Linked DNA regions of Homo sapiens: all the other regions are linked to region 3. Evidence: promoter capture Hi-C in human tissues and cell types (Jung and others, 2019). All regions are on one chromosome and are shown on one strand. The core of a region is centred on a gene start or on the middle of the fragment in contact, and the rest is flanking DNA. Distances in the headings are between cores, read along the strand shown.

Evidence for each region. The method cuts DNA at HindIII sites, captures the fragments that hold promoters and counts their contacts. A contact is called where the count stands out against the background at its distance.
Region 1: a contact is called between a fragment that was not itself captured here and the fragment with the promoter of SULT4A1 in region 3, in 2 of the 25 tissues and cell types used here (H1 embryonic stem cells and dorsolateral prefrontal cortex).
Region 2: a fragment that was not itself captured here is called in contact with the fragment with the promoter of SULT4A1 in region 3 in 2 of the 25 tissues and cell types used here (lymphoblastoid cells and mesendoderm cells).
Region 4: a contact is called between a fragment that was not itself captured here and the fragment with the promoter of SULT4A1 in region 3, in 3 of the 25 tissues and cell types used here (IMR-90 fibroblasts, dorsolateral prefrontal cortex and lymphoblastoid cells).
Region 5: a fragment that was not itself captured here is called in contact with the fragment with the promoter of SULT4A1 in region 3 in 4 of the 25 tissues and cell types used here (dorsolateral prefrontal cortex, lymphoblastoid cells, mesendoderm cells and 1 more).
Region 6: a contact is called between a fragment that was not itself captured here and the fragment with the promoter of SULT4A1 in region 3, in 1 of the 25 tissues and cell types used here (mesendoderm cells).

What each region holds. Positions count from the first base shown.
Region 1 is chr22:43,471,365-43,474,064 of GRCh38, reverse strand. The region is part of intron 3 of MPPED1 (metallophosphoesterase domain containing 1); the gene reads right to left. Among named protein-coding and RNA genes, the nearest start is that of EFCAB6-AS1, 44 kb to the left of the region's middle. The HindIII fragment of the contact is 4,534 bases long and covers 1-2,700 here.
Region 2 is chr22:43,520,503-43,523,202 of GRCh38, reverse strand. All of the region lies in intron 2 of EFCAB6-AS1 (EFCAB6 antisense RNA 1), which reads right to left. Among named protein-coding and RNA genes, the nearest start is that of EFCAB6-AS1, 5.6 kb to the right of the region's middle. The HindIII fragment of the contact is 4,397 bases long and covers 1-2,700 here.
Region 3 is chr22:43,861,114-43,863,813 of GRCh38, reverse strand. SULT4A1 (sulfotransferase family 4A member 1) reads left to right here and starts at 1,301. Exons shown (of 7, transcript NM_014351.4): 1 at 1,301-1,600. The coding sequence starts at 1,432. The HindIII fragment of the contact is 9,350 bases long and covers 1-2,700 here.
Region 4 is chr22:43,383,639-43,386,350 of GRCh38, reverse strand. All of the region lies in intron 3 of LOC105373053 (a long non-coding RNA gene), which reads left to right. Among named protein-coding and RNA genes, the nearest start is that of LINC01639, 15 kb to the left of the region's middle. The HindIII fragment of the contact is 8,457 bases long and covers 1-2,712 here.
Region 5 is chr22:43,436,843-43,439,542 of GRCh38, reverse strand. All of the region lies in intron 3 of MPPED1 (metallophosphoesterase domain containing 1), which reads right to left. Among named protein-coding and RNA genes, the nearest start is that of MPPED1, 26 kb to the right of the region's middle. The HindIII fragment of the contact is 8,662 bases long and covers 1-2,700 here.
Region 6 is chr22:43,577,138-43,579,916 of GRCh38, reverse strand. The region is part of intron 25 of EFCAB6 (EF-hand calcium binding domain 6); the gene reads left to right. Among named protein-coding and RNA genes, the nearest start is that of EFCAB6-AS1, 62 kb to the right of the region's middle. The HindIII fragment of the contact is 8,969 bases long and covers 1-2,779 here.

The DNA of each region.
Region 1 (2,700 bases), core at 199-2,698, 390 kb after region 3:
CAGGAAACATTATAGTACCCACCCCTACTGCCATGGAAATTCAAAGCCAAAACAAAATCTAGATGGAATCAAAACAAAAATGTCTATGTATACAGCCACTGAATTACAATAGTGTCATTCCAGCTTTGCTGTGTGCGAACTTTTGGGTAGTTCTTCCAAGGTACACATCTTTCTCTCTCTGGGGTCCAGTTTTCTGGATGCCCTAGGCAGGAGTGTGCACTGTCACCCAAGAGAGACTGGCTGGGGGCTGGTTTCTCGGCAGCTGCCCGGCAGGCCTCACCCACCAGGCTGGCTCTATGCAGGCGCAAGACCACCACAGCTGTTCGGTCTCAGTAAACGCCACTCGCCCCTGCCCCCTACTCCATCTGAGAGCCAGCCTGACCCCAGGCTTGGGCCCCTGACTCCCCACTCCCCACCAGCCTCAGCTGCTGGGCACTCATGGGCCTGGAGAGTCAAGATGGTACCTGTAAGCCCTGATTTGGATAAAAAATGAAATGTTGAAAGTGCACTTGGAGACCCAAGCCTTTCTCCTGGCCCCTCCTGGGCCGAGAGTGACCTGGAGGGTCAGGCAAGTAGCAAAGACGCCAGCACAGCACAGGGGCCTCGGGGTGGATGGGGACCCAGACAGGAAAATGGTGACATTCCATAACCAGTTCACAAAGCAGTAACTGTGGCTAACAAAGACCGACACCTCGCGAGGCATCCCCTCTATCCCTGGAAGACCATGACCTTCATCTGCTAAAGCACACACAGGGCAAGGTGCCAGAACACTTGTCTGGCCATCAGGCTCCAATGAGCCCCTGACACCCCCTTCACTCCTCACCCTCCCGGGGCAATGCCCAGCAGCACGGGCACCGTGGTCTGTCCCCTGGGACAACACAGCAGCCCAGGAACAGCAGAGCCTTTTCCACCATGACCAAAAACTCTACCTCTTCCGCTGTGTGAGCATTCCATGGGGAACCAAATTCCAGAAATGCCTCTGCTCCAAATACTAAGGATTGTTTTTCTTATTGGAAACGGATGCTTGCAATATGGGCTGAGACTCGGAAGATGTGCCATCACACTCAGCTCTCAGGAAGCACTCTAGGAAGAGCTCGCCTCCCCAGCCCTTACGTGAGCTCCAGGGAAGGGTAGAGTGAGGTTTACAGCAGTACATGTCCTATAACTACAGCCATTATTATATCCTAATAGCAAGGAAATAGAAGGGTCCAGTGCCCCGTTATAAGCTTCTTCTCTACCCCCAGCTAGATGAGACCTGTGCCGTCTGTCTAACCACGTGCCCTATGGCCACGGCAAATGGCCAGGTCCCAGCCTGGCCAGGGAGGGTGGGCCAGGGCGGTAAGAAAGGGAACCCCAAGGCGAGACAGAAGTTTTCTTCAGAACAGGCAGAAAATCCCAATCTACTCATAGCTGACTCACCAACCACCTCAGACTGCTTCACAGGTTTGAGAAAGAAAGCACTGCTCTTTCTTCTTCGGGATTTATCAACTCTGGGGCGGGGGACCACTGGTACATGGGGGCCACTGGTACTTAGCAGGCCACAGAATCTCAGCTCCAGCAGCCTGGATCCCAGACCCACTCTGCCACCAACCCGCTGTACGACTTAGCTTCCCTGTGCCTCAGTTTCCTTACCTGTAAAATGAGAAAAGTAACAGCGACCTTGCAGGACTGTTCTGATATTATAGAAGATAATCAATGGAAATGTACAAAATTTTGATGTTCAAAAAAACCAAAGAGCTTCCCTGGGCCAGAGTTTGCAAACTAGAAGCAGGCAGGCCAGACCCATCCACAGACATATTTTGTTTGGCACAACTTTTTTTTAAAACTTGAATTTGTTGCCAACATCAAAAATTTGAGAGATTCCTAATAACATTTCATTACTTCTGTTTTCTAAAAATAAAGAAATAAATACAATTTAACTGGTCCAGTCAGGAAGTGCTGAGTGTCTGTGTCCCCTTGGACAGGATGAATGCGTCCAGCTGGCCCCAATCCCCACCTGTCCCTACCGTCTCACACCCAGTCCACTTCATTCATTTGAAGGTACCGCCCACTCTTAACAGGCATTTGGGTTTCTGTCCCTGGGGACATGAAGGGAACAGCCTGGCCCTGGCCCGAGGTTCTTCCAGTCAGGCTGCTGGGATGAGATTCTACAAGCCCCTTCCACCTCCCTGACCCTCCTCTTGTACATCAGAGCCCACCCTGATGGACGCTGGGAACTCTGCTTGCTGTGCTCATGGGAGAGCTCCAAGAACATGGATGCAGGCGTGTTTGCTTCCCCCAGCTCTGTCCCTAGCAGGCCCCAGCAGGAGTCTGGCGAATGAAGCCTCCCACAGCCCCACAGTGCGACCAGGCATGGTACAGAGAAGCCCTCTCCAGTGAGGCTCAGGCTGCGGAGAGGAGGGAAGAGGGCTGCGTGGGCCTGAGCAGCTGGTAGTGGGTCCGGGAGGACACAGCAGGAAAGATGGCCACTTCTGGACCGCTGGTGGAGAGCTGAGATCTCATTTCCCTAGAGCACCCCCAAGGTACTTGGTTTTATTATCTCCTCTTTGCAGCTGAGCAGAATGAGGCTCAAAGGCTGGGAAACCCACCCAGGCCCCACGGCTGTGGAGGGGGACGCTGGTCCAGCTGACCCCACCCCTCTAGACGGGCACCTCAGACTCCTCCAAGGCCAGCAGACCCCTCATCGAGCCCCTCCCCAAA
Region 2 (2,700 bases), core at 23-2,522, 340 kb after region 3:
AAGTGATTCTCCTGCCTCAGCCTCCCAAGTAGCTGGGACTATGGCATGCGCCATCGTGCCCGGCTAGTTTTTGTATTTTTAGTAGAGATGGGGTTTCACCACGTTGGCCAGGCTGGTCTCGAACCCCTGACATAATCCACCTGCCTCAGCCTCCCAAAGTGCTGGGATTACAGGTGTGAGCCACTGCACCCAGCCGACTTGTGGCATTTTAACTGCCCTAGTCCAACCAGCCACTCTCCAGGTCCCCAACAGCCTTAGAAAATAACAGCCTGCATTCCCAGTTCAGTGTGATAGTCACCACACAGAGCAGAACAGAGCTGGAGCAACTTCAAAGCCTATTTCACCAAAATATGGTCGCTATTTGGCCTGCATGGTGGATCCCTGAAAGATGCCCTTTGCAAGGCTGGCTGTTTTGGGCCTAACTCGGAGCTTGCCCAGGTGTAAAAAACCTTTCTCCCAGAGTTAAGGAGGGAGTATTTGTAAAAAAAAAAAAAAAAAAACAAAACAAAAAACAAAAACAAGAAAGTGTTTTAACTTGGTGGCCGCCTAAGGCAATGGATAACAGCTGGGGTAATCAAAAGGCTACTCAGAAAGCTTAAAAGGAAAAGCTGGGAAATAAAATGTCACGTGGAGGCCTTAAAAAACACCAACATATTTCTTGAGAATCTAGAAAGCTACAAATGTAGACAGTGCTGTGTGTATGCCCGGGGTTGTGAGCATGCTCAGAAAAGACATTAAAAAGGCCCTACACTCTCACCTCTGGCTGACTTGCTGCACCAGCAGAAAGTGAAGGCTGATGCAGAGTGGCCAGCCACCTGGCTGAATGTTGAAGGTGCGTCCTGACAGGCACTCAGAGCATTTCAGCAGAGACTGGGAAATTTTTTATTTTTATTTTATTTATTTATTTATTTATGTGAGACGGAGTCTCACTCTGTCACCAGGCTGGAGTGCAGTGACGTGATGTCGGCTCACTGCAACCTCCCCGGGTTCAAGCGATTCTCCTGCCTCAGCCTCCCGAGTAGCTGGGATTACAGGCGTGTGCCACCACGGCCGGCTAATTTTGGTATTTTTAGTGGAGACGGGGTTTCACCATGTTGGCCAGGATGGTCTACAGGATGGTGATCCGCCCACCTCAGCCTCTCAAAGTGCTGGGATTACAGGTGTGAGCGGGACTGAAAAATTTATTGGTTCCAAGTGTTTAAGGAAACCTCTGTCTCATCATCAGCTGACCACTAAGCTAATAACTGAAAGGAAATTTCCGTGGCCACACATGACAGAGAATGCAGACCTTAAAGAATTCACATGGAAGAGTCACTAAACAAACAAAGCCAACTACAACAAGCAGCAGCAACAAATCCTTCAGGGCATTGAAGGGGGAGGGGACAGGGGAGGGGACGGGATCTTACTTCCAAAGTTGCCAAACTACATTATTTAAAATATTCAGTTTTAGGCCGGGTGCGGTGGCTCACACCTGTAATCCCAGCACTTTGGGATGCCGAGGCAGGCGGATCACCTGAGGTCAGGAGTTCGAGACCAGCCTGGCCAACATGACAAAACCCCACCTCCATTAAAAATACAAAAATTACAGCCTGACCAATATGGTGAAACCCCATCTCTACTAAAAATACAAAATTAGCTGGACATAGTGGTGCACACCTGTAGTCCCAGCTACTTGGGAGGCTGAGGCAGAAGAATCACTTAAAACTGGGAGGCGGAGGTTGCAGTGAGCTGAGATCATGCCACTGCACTCCAGCCTGTGACAGAGCAAGACTCCAAAAAAAAAAAAAAAAAAAGAAAGAAAGAAAAAAGGCATTGTAGACCTAAATGTAAAACACAAAACTAAAAAAAAACTCCTAAAAGAAAGCATGAGAGAAAATCTACATGACCTTGGGTTTGGAGATGGGAAATGGATTTTTAGATATGACACCAAAAGCACGAGCTATAAAAGAAGAAATGGATAAATTGAACTATATCAGAATTTTTAAATTTTGCTCTAAGAAAGACACTGTTAAAAGAGTAAAAAGAGAACCCACAGACTGGAAGAAAAAAAAAAAAAAAACTTGTATCCAGAATATAAAGAACTCTTAAAACTCAACAGCAAGAAAACAAACAACCTGATTTTTTTAAAAAGAGATGAAAGATCTAAACAGACTCCCACAAATGAATAGATGAGAATGATAAGCACAAGAAGGATGTGCTTATCATTAGTCATTAGGAAAATAGAAATTAAAACCATGGTGAAACACCCACATGCACACTCAAATGGCTACAATTTTTAAAAATAAGATCAATTCTGGTGATGATATGAATCAGCAGGAATACACATTCATGGCTGGTAGGACTGCAAGCTCATACAGCCATTTTGGAAACAGTTTGACTACACAGGGACTGAAAAAGGGGATTTTTAGGGTGATGGAACAACTGTCCTCCATGATCATATGATAATAGATACTGGGTTCTATGCATTTGTCAAAACCCACAGGACGGTACATGATGGAGAGTGAACGTCACTTTATGCAAATAAGTAATCAGCCAGGAGGTCAGGGGATCCTAGGATGGAAAGCAGACCAGGGACAAAATAATCCAACTGTATTGCAAACGGATGACATTAGCCACACTGAAAGGCGATGGGGGAGGAACTGACCACTGTAACTTCATAAAGCTGCAAATGAAAAGCCTGCACGTGGACACGCACTCTGG
Region 3 (2,700 bases), core at 52-2,551:
GTTGTTTTCATCTTTGTGCTTCCCCAGGCATGTTAGTAGGTGCTTCATATATGTCTGTTGAGTGCATGACTGGCAAGGGGTTGCACTGAGATCTCTAGAACTCGGTTGCTCTCAAATTATAGTTTGCACAAGAAGTGCCTTACTAAATGTATATTTTTGTAATTTTTCTCCATAGATCTGGGGTCCTGGAATTTGCAATCCAACACTCCCCTCCCCTACTCATGGGATATTAAGAAGCACTTTTTGGCTGGGCGAGGTGGTTCACACCTGTAATCCCAGCACTTTGGGAGGCCAAGGTGGGCAGATCACGAGGTCAGGAGATTGAGACCATCCTGGCTAACACGATGAAACCCCGTCTCTACTAAAACAAACAAACAAAAAATACAAAAAATTAGCCAGGCATGGTGGCATGTGCCTGTAGTCCCAGCTACTCGGGAGGCTGAGCCAGGAGAATGGCGTAAACCCGGGAGGTGGAGCTTGCAGTGAGCTGAGATCGCGCCCCTGCACTCCAGCCTGGGCGACACAGCGAGACTCCATCTCAAAAAAAAAAAAAAAAAAAAAAAAGCAAAAAAAAAGCACTTTGTTTTTTTGGCTGGACTAGGTGGCCCATACTTTTTTTTTGTTGTTGTTAGAAGATCTCGTCCTGTTGCCCAGACTGGAGTGCAGTGGTGCAAGCTCACAGCTCACTGCTAATTTTTTTTTTTGTATGTTTGTAGAGATGCGGTTTCACCATTTACCCAGGTTGGTCTCGAACTCTTGACCTCAGGAGATCCGCCCGTGCTCGACCTCTCAAAGTGCTGAGATTACAGGCGTGATCCACCGCGCCTGGCGAAGACGCATATTTTTAATAGGACCTAATATTTACCTGAAATTATCTTGGTTATTTACCAATGTAAGCTCCAACAGGGCCAGGCTTCTGCTTGCTTCTACCCTGACGCGTGTCGGGGCCCTGGCCCAGTGCCTGGCACAGATCAGCAGCGCGCTAAGCACGTGTTGAATGGACGACTACCTTTCAGGGCCTTCCAGCCAGGGTATCTCATGCGTCTGTGTTGAGCGCTTGCTGAGTGACAGAAGCTATGAGCGGAATGAACGCACGCACGACTGAGGAGGCTGCAGACCGCGGGCCAGGGTCTCTGTCAGCCCCGGCAGCGGGTGGGTGACCCCGGCCGGGGGCGGGGCGGGGAGGACGCGGCTCCGCGGCGCCATGACGTCACGCCCGTGCAGCGCCGCGGCCGCGTGCCGGGCGGCGCCATGACGTCATACCCGCGGAGCCTCCGCCGCGCGTCGGCGGCGCCATGACGTCACGCCTGCGGAGCTGCCGCCGCGCGCCGGTGGGGCGCGAGCGTGTGCGGGGCGCGGGCGCGGGCGCGGGCGCGGGCGCGTGCGGGCTGCGAGCCGGGAGGCGGCGGCGGCGACGGCGACGGCGGCGGCATGGCGGAGAGCGAGGCCGAGACCCCCAGCACCCCGGGGGAGTTCGAGAGCAAGTACTTCGAGTTCCATGGCGTGCGGCTGCCGCCCTTCTGCCGCGGGAAGATGGAGGAGATCGCCAACTTCCCGGTGCGGCCCAGCGACGTGTGGATCGTCACCTACCCCAAGTCCGGTGAGCCCCGCGCCGACCGCGCCCGCCACGCCATGCCCCAGCCCTGCAGCGCGGCCGCGTAGACGCCGCGCCCGCGCCCGGGGCTTCTGCTGGGCCGGGTGGTCGCCCTTGGCCTCCGCCCCTGCCGTGCCCACCGCTCTCCCGATGCTCGGATCCCTGCGGGGCGGGGTGGGGTGGGGTGGGGGTGGGAAGGGGCTTGGTTCTCATCTGGGGAAACCAAGGTCAGAGACCTTCGGGAGCGGCCCCTTCCGTGGAGATGGAGCCTATTTGGCCGGCGCTGCAGGAGGATGGGCCCAGGGCCGCCACCCATCCCTGCTTCTCCCTTTACCTGGCTGGCTGTGTGACCTTGGACAGGTCACTCAACCTCTCTGTTCCTGAATCCTGCCCAACCTTTGATGAGTGCAAAGTCCTGGTGTTCACCTGGGAAGGGAGATAACATGGGCGTCAGGGCTTTCAGCGTGGAAACGTAACGTCCCTCCTTTCCAGCCTGGGCTCCGGGTGGGGGATGGGACCAGTCCCCGCCTGGAGTGCCTTGCTTGTACATTCTCTTGTTTCAGGGCTGCCTCCATCACCGAGGCAGGACCTGGGGCATTCACATTTCCCAGCATTAGCTGACGTCACTTTCACAATAACAGCTGTGTGAGCTAGTGGTGGTCATTCCCACTTTACAGTCTAGGCACAGAGGCTCAGAGAGGGGAAGAGGCTGGTCCAAGGTCACTCAGCTGGTGAGTGGCTGACCTGGGAATTAAAGCTAGGCTGGTCTGTTTCCAGACCTGAGGTAGGAGATTGTATAGTACCCCATCTGAGGTTTTTAGGGAAAGGAGGTAGCAGCTTTCCTGTTCTGTAAACATGCCCTGGGATTTCCTTGTTGCCACTGTATTTGAGGCAATCACAGCGTGGTTTAGAAGGTGTCTGGCTCTAAGGTCACGCCGGACCAGCAGTCGGGCAGTTTCAGGAAAAGCTGTAGGCTTGGCTGTTGTAGCTGTATGGAGTTCCAGACACCTGAGGGCAGGTCTCTGACATTCTTCTGAGGAAGATTGGAGTAGGGACTCTCAGTGGAGGGTGTTGGTTGGAGAACAGAGCGTTCGATGGGCTGCTAT
Region 4 (2,712 bases), core at 78-2,577, 480 kb after region 3:
AAAGAAAGAGGGAGGGAGGGAGGGAGGGAGGGAGGAAGGAAGGAAGGAAGGAAAAGAAAGAAGAAAGAAAAGGAAGGAAAAGAAAGAAAGAAGAAAGAAAGAAAAGAAAGAAAGAGAGAGAAAGAAAGAAAGAGTAAGAAAGAGAAAGAAAGACTGGATGGGCAAATTTGGACCGTGCACACACCAACCACCTTGCACAATGCTTGGTACTCTCACATCCGTGACTTCACTTAGCCCCCATAAAACCCCTGCTTCCATCATTTTCCAGCTGGGGAAACTGAGGCCCAGAAAAGAGACATTCCCAGTGTCACGCAGTGCTGGGTTCCAGCTGGGCAGTGCTGGAATCAAACCCCGGTCAACAGGGAGAGTCAGCTGCAGTTTGTCAGTGGAACAGCCTGAGCCGTGCGGCCGCGTTTCGCCAGAAAATCACTCCCTGCTCATCATAACCGGCACCTCTCCATGTCGGCCACACGAGGGCAGCAGCGCCCCGGCCATCGCCGGGCTTCGCACTGAGGCTTCTTCCATCCCTGCTGAGAACGACTGGGCGGTTGCAGCCAGCAAGGCTCAGAGGAGGAAGGGGCCACGTCGGGGACCTCTAGGGTCTGCGAGGGGCCCAGGCTGTGTCCTGCCCCCTCCGCTGCCTTGGTGCATGAAAGACTCCACTTCTTCTGTGAAATGGAGGCTTGTGTCCCCACCCAGGCAGCCCAGGCTCCGGATAACATCAAGTGCCTCTGCCAGGCTGGGGTGCGGCGAATAATCAAAAGAAGCACGGAACCACTGACCAGGTCCAAGTCTCCATTTCACAGAAGTGGAGGCTTCATGGTATCACTGCCTCCGTGCAGAAGAAAAGGAGACTCCAGAGGCTGACGCAATTTGCCTGAGGTAGACGCAGAGTCAGACTCAGAGGCCGTATTGGTTCGTCCCACCGTCTTCCAGAGAGAATGGGCTGCCTCCTGGAGCCCTGACCCACCCACGACAGCCCCCAGGATGTCCTACAGCCAGTTGCAAACTCAGTTTGTCCAAAGCCATTGCCCTTCCCTCTCTGTCTTCTGTCAGTGGGAGGCACCACTGCACAGAGACCCCCAGCCTGAAACCTGGCATCTCCCAAAACTTCTCTGAGCTCCTTAACCCCACATCTCCCATCCAACTCATCACCAAACTCTGTGGATTCTCCCCAGGCCCGTTTTTTAAGATGACAAAAATTGCCTTGAACTACATCTGGGCTGTGATTTCGGATTGGGACACACACTCTTCAGTTTGCTACAGGCTTCACCGCTCCCTGCTGCATCCCCAGCTCTGGGGGCCCAGGTCAGCTGCTGTCGAGCACTGGGCTTCACTGATGTGCTTTTTACAGCGAGGGAGTATTTCCTTGCCCCATCAAGTGTGCAGGAAAGAAAGCTGGGCAGAGAAGTCTGCCTATTTGAAGAAAAAAAATCAGAAACAATTTTCTTCAGGTGACAGAAGGCAATTTTTAAGAAGCATGCAACCAAAATGCATTATATGTAAACTGTGTAATATCTAATATTTTTTACGCTCAGCCCACGTTATACATTTTTGCCACCTGTCTGGCCACTGTAGGCTTTGGAGGTTGCAACCCCCAGGTGATAATAATCACAGAAGAGACTTACAGTGAGATAGCGAGATGGGGGTGGGTGTGGGCAGAGGGAGAGGAAGAGTCAAGCCATTTAGATAACTTGGGTTTCCTCTCCAGGCCCCAAAAAGCAGGAAGGGGGCGCGTAGAGTACTACCTCCTATCCTATTTTGTCCAAAGCCAGATTCATAATCATTGCCACTTCCATGCACACCCTTCTCAGTTTCCCACCCGATTCCCATAGACGGGGCCCCTCCACTATCTCCTGCCCACAGTATAAGTCGTAAAGTCTCCCAAACCTCAACCAGGTGAACAATAGTGCCTGATGTCACCCAGGTCCTATTGCAATGATTATGTGTTTTTTCTTTAAGCTGTTAATGGAATGAATTATATTAATTAATTTCCTAATAATAGGAATTGCATTCATAAGATAAACATAACTTCATCATAATATGCTGGGGTTTTTTGTTTTTGTTTTTTTTTTCTTTGAGATGGAGTCTCACTCTGTAGCCCAGGCTGGAGTGCAGTGGCACGATCTCGGCTCACTGCAACCTCTGCCTCCAGGGTCCAAGAGATTCTCCTGCCTCAGTCTCCCAAGTAGCTGGGACTACAGGCGCCTGCCACCACACCTGGCTAATTTTTTGTATTTTTAGTAGAGACGGGTTTTACCATGTTGCCCAGGTGGTCTCAATCTCCTGAGCTCGGGCAATTCACCTGCCTCGGCCTCCCAAAGTGCTGGGATTATAGGCGTGAGCCACTGCACCCGGCCTGTACTGTATTTTTTATTATTATTGCTGAATTCACTGTGCTAATAATTTTCAAGAATTCTTGGAATCTATGCTCATGGGTAAAATTGACTTGAAAGTTTTCTTTATTGTACTGTCATCATCTGATTAGCCAGCTTATGCTAACCGAATAAGGTAAACTGGTAAGTGTTGACTGTGTTTCTCCACTGTGGAGTAGAAATTTGGGTAAGCTTGAACTGATTTGTTCTTTGACTGTTTAGCCAAATTAGGATTTGGTTCATCCCACCATCTTCCAGAGAGAGCTGGGCTATTAATTTGGTGAATTCCAAATTCACATATCTGGAATTGTCATCTGGGACAGACGTTTTCTTTATA
Region 5 (2,700 bases), core at 42-2,541, 420 kb after region 3:
AGGAAACAGGGGTGAAGACAGCTGCCTGGCCTCCAGCCGCCCCACCTCCCTGCACTGGCACTGCTGACTGATCCATCCAGGCTGTGAGCTCCCTGTGGCTGGTGAGGAGCAAGGAACCACCTGCACATTCTTTGCCATTTTCAGCAAGTTTTGCTTTTGCGTTCACTCTTTATAGCTGGAGAACTTGTCCTTATCCATCTTTTAGCTGCTTACTCGACATTTACAAATCAAGCTGCCACTTCTATTTCATGAATACATTTGGGATATTAATGGCCAAGGGGGAAAAGGGGCTGCTCAGAGGGACTCTTTCATCCCAACCCGTCCCCCTCCCATGAACGCAGACCCAGCTAGAAGCCGGCAAACGGGCAATGCATAGACACCAGTCACAGCCGAGCTGACAGCAACGCACCTCACAGCAAGTTAGAGTCCGCAGGAATTTAACCACGCAGAGCCCCGTTAGATGTCTTGTCTTGTCTTATACGGTAGGTCTTTATTAATTTTTTAAATCTCTTCCTGTCTGTCTGGAGGTGGCTCCCAGAATATGATTTCAAATGCTTTCCATGAGATCAATGAACAGGGAAGGAGCAAGTTGTGAATTTCAAATCTATAACTTTCTCATCCAGGAGAAGGGGCTGAGCCAGTGGGTGGGCGAGGTGGGCAAGGTGATGAGGTGGGTGTGCAAAGGTCTCCCGCCCTGTCGGCTGGGGAAGGGGCTCATGGAGGCCCTTGAGCGGCCAGGATTGACCCAAGGCCCAGCGCTGTCCCATCCCTTCTGTGACACACTTGGCACCAGACACCCAGGAGCGTTGCCTTTGTTTGAAATTACCAGAAAAACACACCCCTCCCCTATAGAAAATCAGACACAGAGAGAGAGAGAGACAATCCTAAAGAAGAAGGTAAAACCCCATGAGCCCACCACCCAGACATCGACTCTGGAACATTCTGGAGCTTTAGCCCTCACCAGGTACACTCTGGTTCTACAATCCATCATGGCCTTTGAAAAGCTTTCTAAAGGTCATCCCCATACAAAAACCTTCCCAAAGCTCCCCCTGCCCTTAGGATCAGCCCCACACTCTTGTCCGAGGCCCAGGAGGCCTGTGTGGACCAGTGCCTGCCCCACTGCCCTGCTTCTCCCACTTCCCAACACTCCTAGTGCTCTCTGCTCCCACCCCAGGGCCCCTGCAGCCTCCGCGTCCTCTGCCTGGAACGGGTCCTGCCCAGAGCTGCACAAGGCTGCCTCATTCTCACCCTCAGGCCTGGCCCAACATCCCCTCCTCAGGGAGGCCTTCCGTGCCCACCCAGCTGAATGGCCATCACCACACGTCCCCAGGTGGGTCCCAGACAGACCCCATAGCTCTCTCTAATGAATGGCTCCCGTGCCGCCCTCATGGCTATGAAGCCACCGTCCCCTCGCATCAGGCTGAGTGGGGCCCTGTGTGCTCAGGGCCTACTGTTACCCCAGGGCTTGCGACACACCTGGCACCTCGTGGGCTCTCAGTGAGGCTCAGCAATAGGATGACGGAATGTTTCTTTCCAGTCTCTTTTTCTCTGTGTCTGCTGTTGGGAGGGCGGTTGCTAGCTGAGACTACACGTCCACATCTCTCAGGAACTCCACATGCTGTAACACATGTGTTGTTCCACTGCCTTCCCTGCCAACTCAACCTCAAGGTTCAGGTCCAATGTCTTCCTCCCAACACCCCACCCCTACCCAGGGGAGCCCAGATCTGGTAGACGCCAGTTCATGGGGGCAATCATAACAGGTATACAGCACTTTACATTTTGCAAGGTGATTCTTTCCTCCATTCCAACAGAGCCTCAAAACAACATTTGGAGGGATGCGAGGCAGGGGAGCCTAACCGCCCCCTTTTAAAATGAGGCCCAGAGGGGCCACGTGGCTGCTGTGGTCACCCAGGCAGGAAGCAGATCCAGACTCCAAATGCATCGCCTACACCCTTACTTCCAATCAGCATCGTCCACACCCTTACTTCCAATTAGGGAGGCTTCACCTCAAGAAGGAGAGGCAACACAGAGCTATACCAAGAGTTCAGCACTGGGGTCCCACTGCCCAGTTCTGCCATTTACAAGCTGTGTGACTTTGGGTAAGTGGCTTCACTTCTCTGGGACTTGGTTTTCTCCTCTGTAAAATGGGAATGATAATAGTTCCTGCCTCATTGTCAGGAGGATTAAATGAGTTACTAATACATGCGAAGGGTATAGAACAGCACCCAGCACATACTAAATGCTCAGTAAACCTGAGCTTCATAGAAAAAACGACCCTGTCCAAACGCACCAAATAGGTGCACAGTCCATCTCTCAGCCATGATCACCAAACTCTGGGGACCTGGCCCACCGGCCAACCAAGGTGTCTCGCTTTGTGCAGTGGGTGAGTTCCCAAAATACCAGCAGCAAATGGGCTTCGATTCATGCTCTCACCCCCATGCAAATGCTCCTCCTCCCTCAGTCTGAAGCCCATTCCTCCTTGAGTGAGGGTCCTGACATCTGCAAACACTTCCAGGCAGCAAAGGGGCGAGGCCTGAGGGAAAGAACCTTTTGTAAAAGGAAGACCCCTTTACAAGTTGTAAGTTCACACTTTCCACCCATCATGGGCACCTGGAAAGCCAGGCTGTGTGTGAGAGACAGTCCCCACCCTTCAGAACCTCCATTCTCCTCTGTCAAATAGGGACGCAAATGGTAGCCACC
Region 6 (2,779 bases), core at 229-2,728, 280 kb after region 3:
ATGATGCCTGCGTGTACGGAATGATGCCTGCATGTAGGGAATGATGCCTGAGTGTAGGGAATAATGCCTGCATATAGAGAATGATGCCTGCGTGTAGGGAATGATGCCTGCGTGTGTGGAATGATGCTTGCCTGTAGGGAATGATGCCTGCGTGTACGGAATGATGCCTGTGTGTAGGGAATGATGCCTGCATGTATGGAATGATGCCTATGTGTATGGAATGATGCTTGTATGTAAGCAATGATGCCTACGTGTACGGAATGATGCCTATATGTATGGAATGATGCTTGCATGTAGGGAATGATGCCTGCATGCAGGGAATGATGCCTGCGTGTAGGGAATGATGCCTGCGTGTAGGGAATGATGCCTGCGTGTACGGAATGATGCCTATGTGTATGGAATGATGCTTGCAGGTAAGCAATGATGCCTACATGTACAGAATGATGCCTATATGTATGGAATGATGCTTGCATGTAGGGAATGATGCCTGCATGTACAGAATGATGCCTGCATGCAGGGAATGATGCCTGCGTGTAGGGAATGATGCCTATGTGTAGGGAATGATACCTGCGTGTAGGGAATGATACCTGCGTGTAGAGAATGATGCCTATCTGTAGGAAATAATGCCTGCGTATAGGGAATAATGCCTGCATGTAGGGAATGATGCCTGCATGTAGGGTATGATGCCTGCATGTAGGGAATGATGCCTGCATGTACGGAATGATGCCTATGTGTATGGAATGATGCTTGCATGTAAGCAATGATGCCTACGTGTACAGAATGATGCCTATACTTATGGAATGATGCTTGCATGTAGACAATGATGCCTGCGTGTAGGGAATGAGGCCTGCATGTACGGAATGATGCCTGCGTGTAGGGAATGATGCCTGCATGTAGGGTATGATGCCTGCGTGTACGGAATGATGCCTGCGTGTACGGAATGATGCCTATGTGTATGGAATGATGCTTGCATGTAAGCAATGATGCCTACGTGTACGGAATGATGCCTATACGTATGGAATGATGCTTGCATGTAGACAATGATGCCTGCGTGTAGGGAATGATGCCTGCATGTACGGAATGATGCCTGCGTGTAGGGAATGATGCCTGCATGTAGGGAATGATGCCTGCGTGTAGGGTATGATGCCTGCTTGTAGGGAATAATGCCTGTGTGTAGGGAATGATGCCTGTGTGTATGGAATGATGCCTGCATGTACAGAATAATGCCTGCACGTAGGGAATGATGACCGCGTGTAGGGTATGATGCCTACATGTATGGAATGATGCTTGTGTGTGTGGAGTACTGATGCTGTGGACTGTGCTGGTGTCCTTGGATATTGTGCTTGGAACCAGCCTCCTGGTGAGGTGGTGCTCCCAGGTGAGCTTCTGTGTGTCAGCGTCAAGAAGGGAAGATGCTTTCTGCAGAGGGCAGGCATCGAAGAGAACAAGGCAGCGTCGGAATCATCCTGTGGGAAGCCGGCACCCAGAGCCCAAACAGCCACAGCAACCCAGACTGAAAGATCCACTCAACACCTCTCAATCCCCACAGTGAACATCCCTTCTAACGTCACAGAGTCCTGGCTCCACACACTCTAGAGGGCTTCCCAGGGTGCTGGGGGGCCACAAGCCCTAATGAGAGTTCATGAGTCTTTTTCTCTTTGATCATAACCTTGCAAGGTGGGGCTCCTGATTCCACTCTACAGGAGGGGAAACTGAGGCTCAGCGTGAATAAACCTGCCCAGGGTCACACAGGGACTATGGAGCAGAGCCCAGAACCTGAGGAGGAAGGGGAAATGGACTTGTCGCAGCCCTTCTTTTCCAAATCCAGGTGGTTTGAAGAATTGAAGTCCTGAAGATCTTTACTAGAGATGTGATGTCTACTGCCCATGACTTCTTCTGAGGATCGACCTTAGTTAGTGTCATGACTTTTGAAGAAATCAAGGCTAGTGACCCTTTTAGGGTATCAGACTCTTGGAGGTGGGAATCACTCACTCTCCACTCCTGAGATCTATTTTAAACTTTTTTTTTTTTTTTTGTAAATCACATCCCAATTTCCTTGGTGTAGGGAAGCAAGGTGGGCTCCGGAGTCCCGGTGCGGTGTGAGGGATTAAATGTGGGGAGGGAAGGAGTGAGGAGGGGCAGCCCAGCCAGCTGAGCTTTGCAGGAGGCTCCTCTTCACACCTGAGCCTGCCGCTGCCATTGCCCCTGCGGCACAGTTGTCTGTGTTCATTCTTATGATCGTTCTCCTTAACATTTGAGATCCCCACGGGCCAGGTACCTGGATGGGGGCATTTTCCAGCAAACTTAGGAAAACTTACACCTGCCCTCTGAGTTAAGTCCATCTTTACAGTAAAGAAGCTAAAGTTTAGAGAGGTTCAGGACTTATGGTGGGCAGCAGAGCCCAGGTTCCCAGAACAACTCCTGGCTAGGGGATTTCCCACTGTACACAGCTACCTCATGTTACCATGAACTACATGAAAATGTGAAGCTATCTGATGTTTTAAGGTTAATTTGATTACACATATGCCATCACCCTGTTGGGCCAATGGGGCGTGCCTAATTAGCCCCGAATGAGAATTAACTACAAGGGTGTGGGGTTTGCAGGCATGCTAAATTCTTCCTTTAAAAAAGATCTTAATCTACCCCTGGATGCAGATTTCCTGGTGTAATAAAAATGAATGATTTTATTTCGACAGATGGAAAAAAATGTGCTTTCTTTTTATAGCACATTTTTGCACTTTTTCAGTTTAACTACTCTACTGTAGGATTCACAACGTGT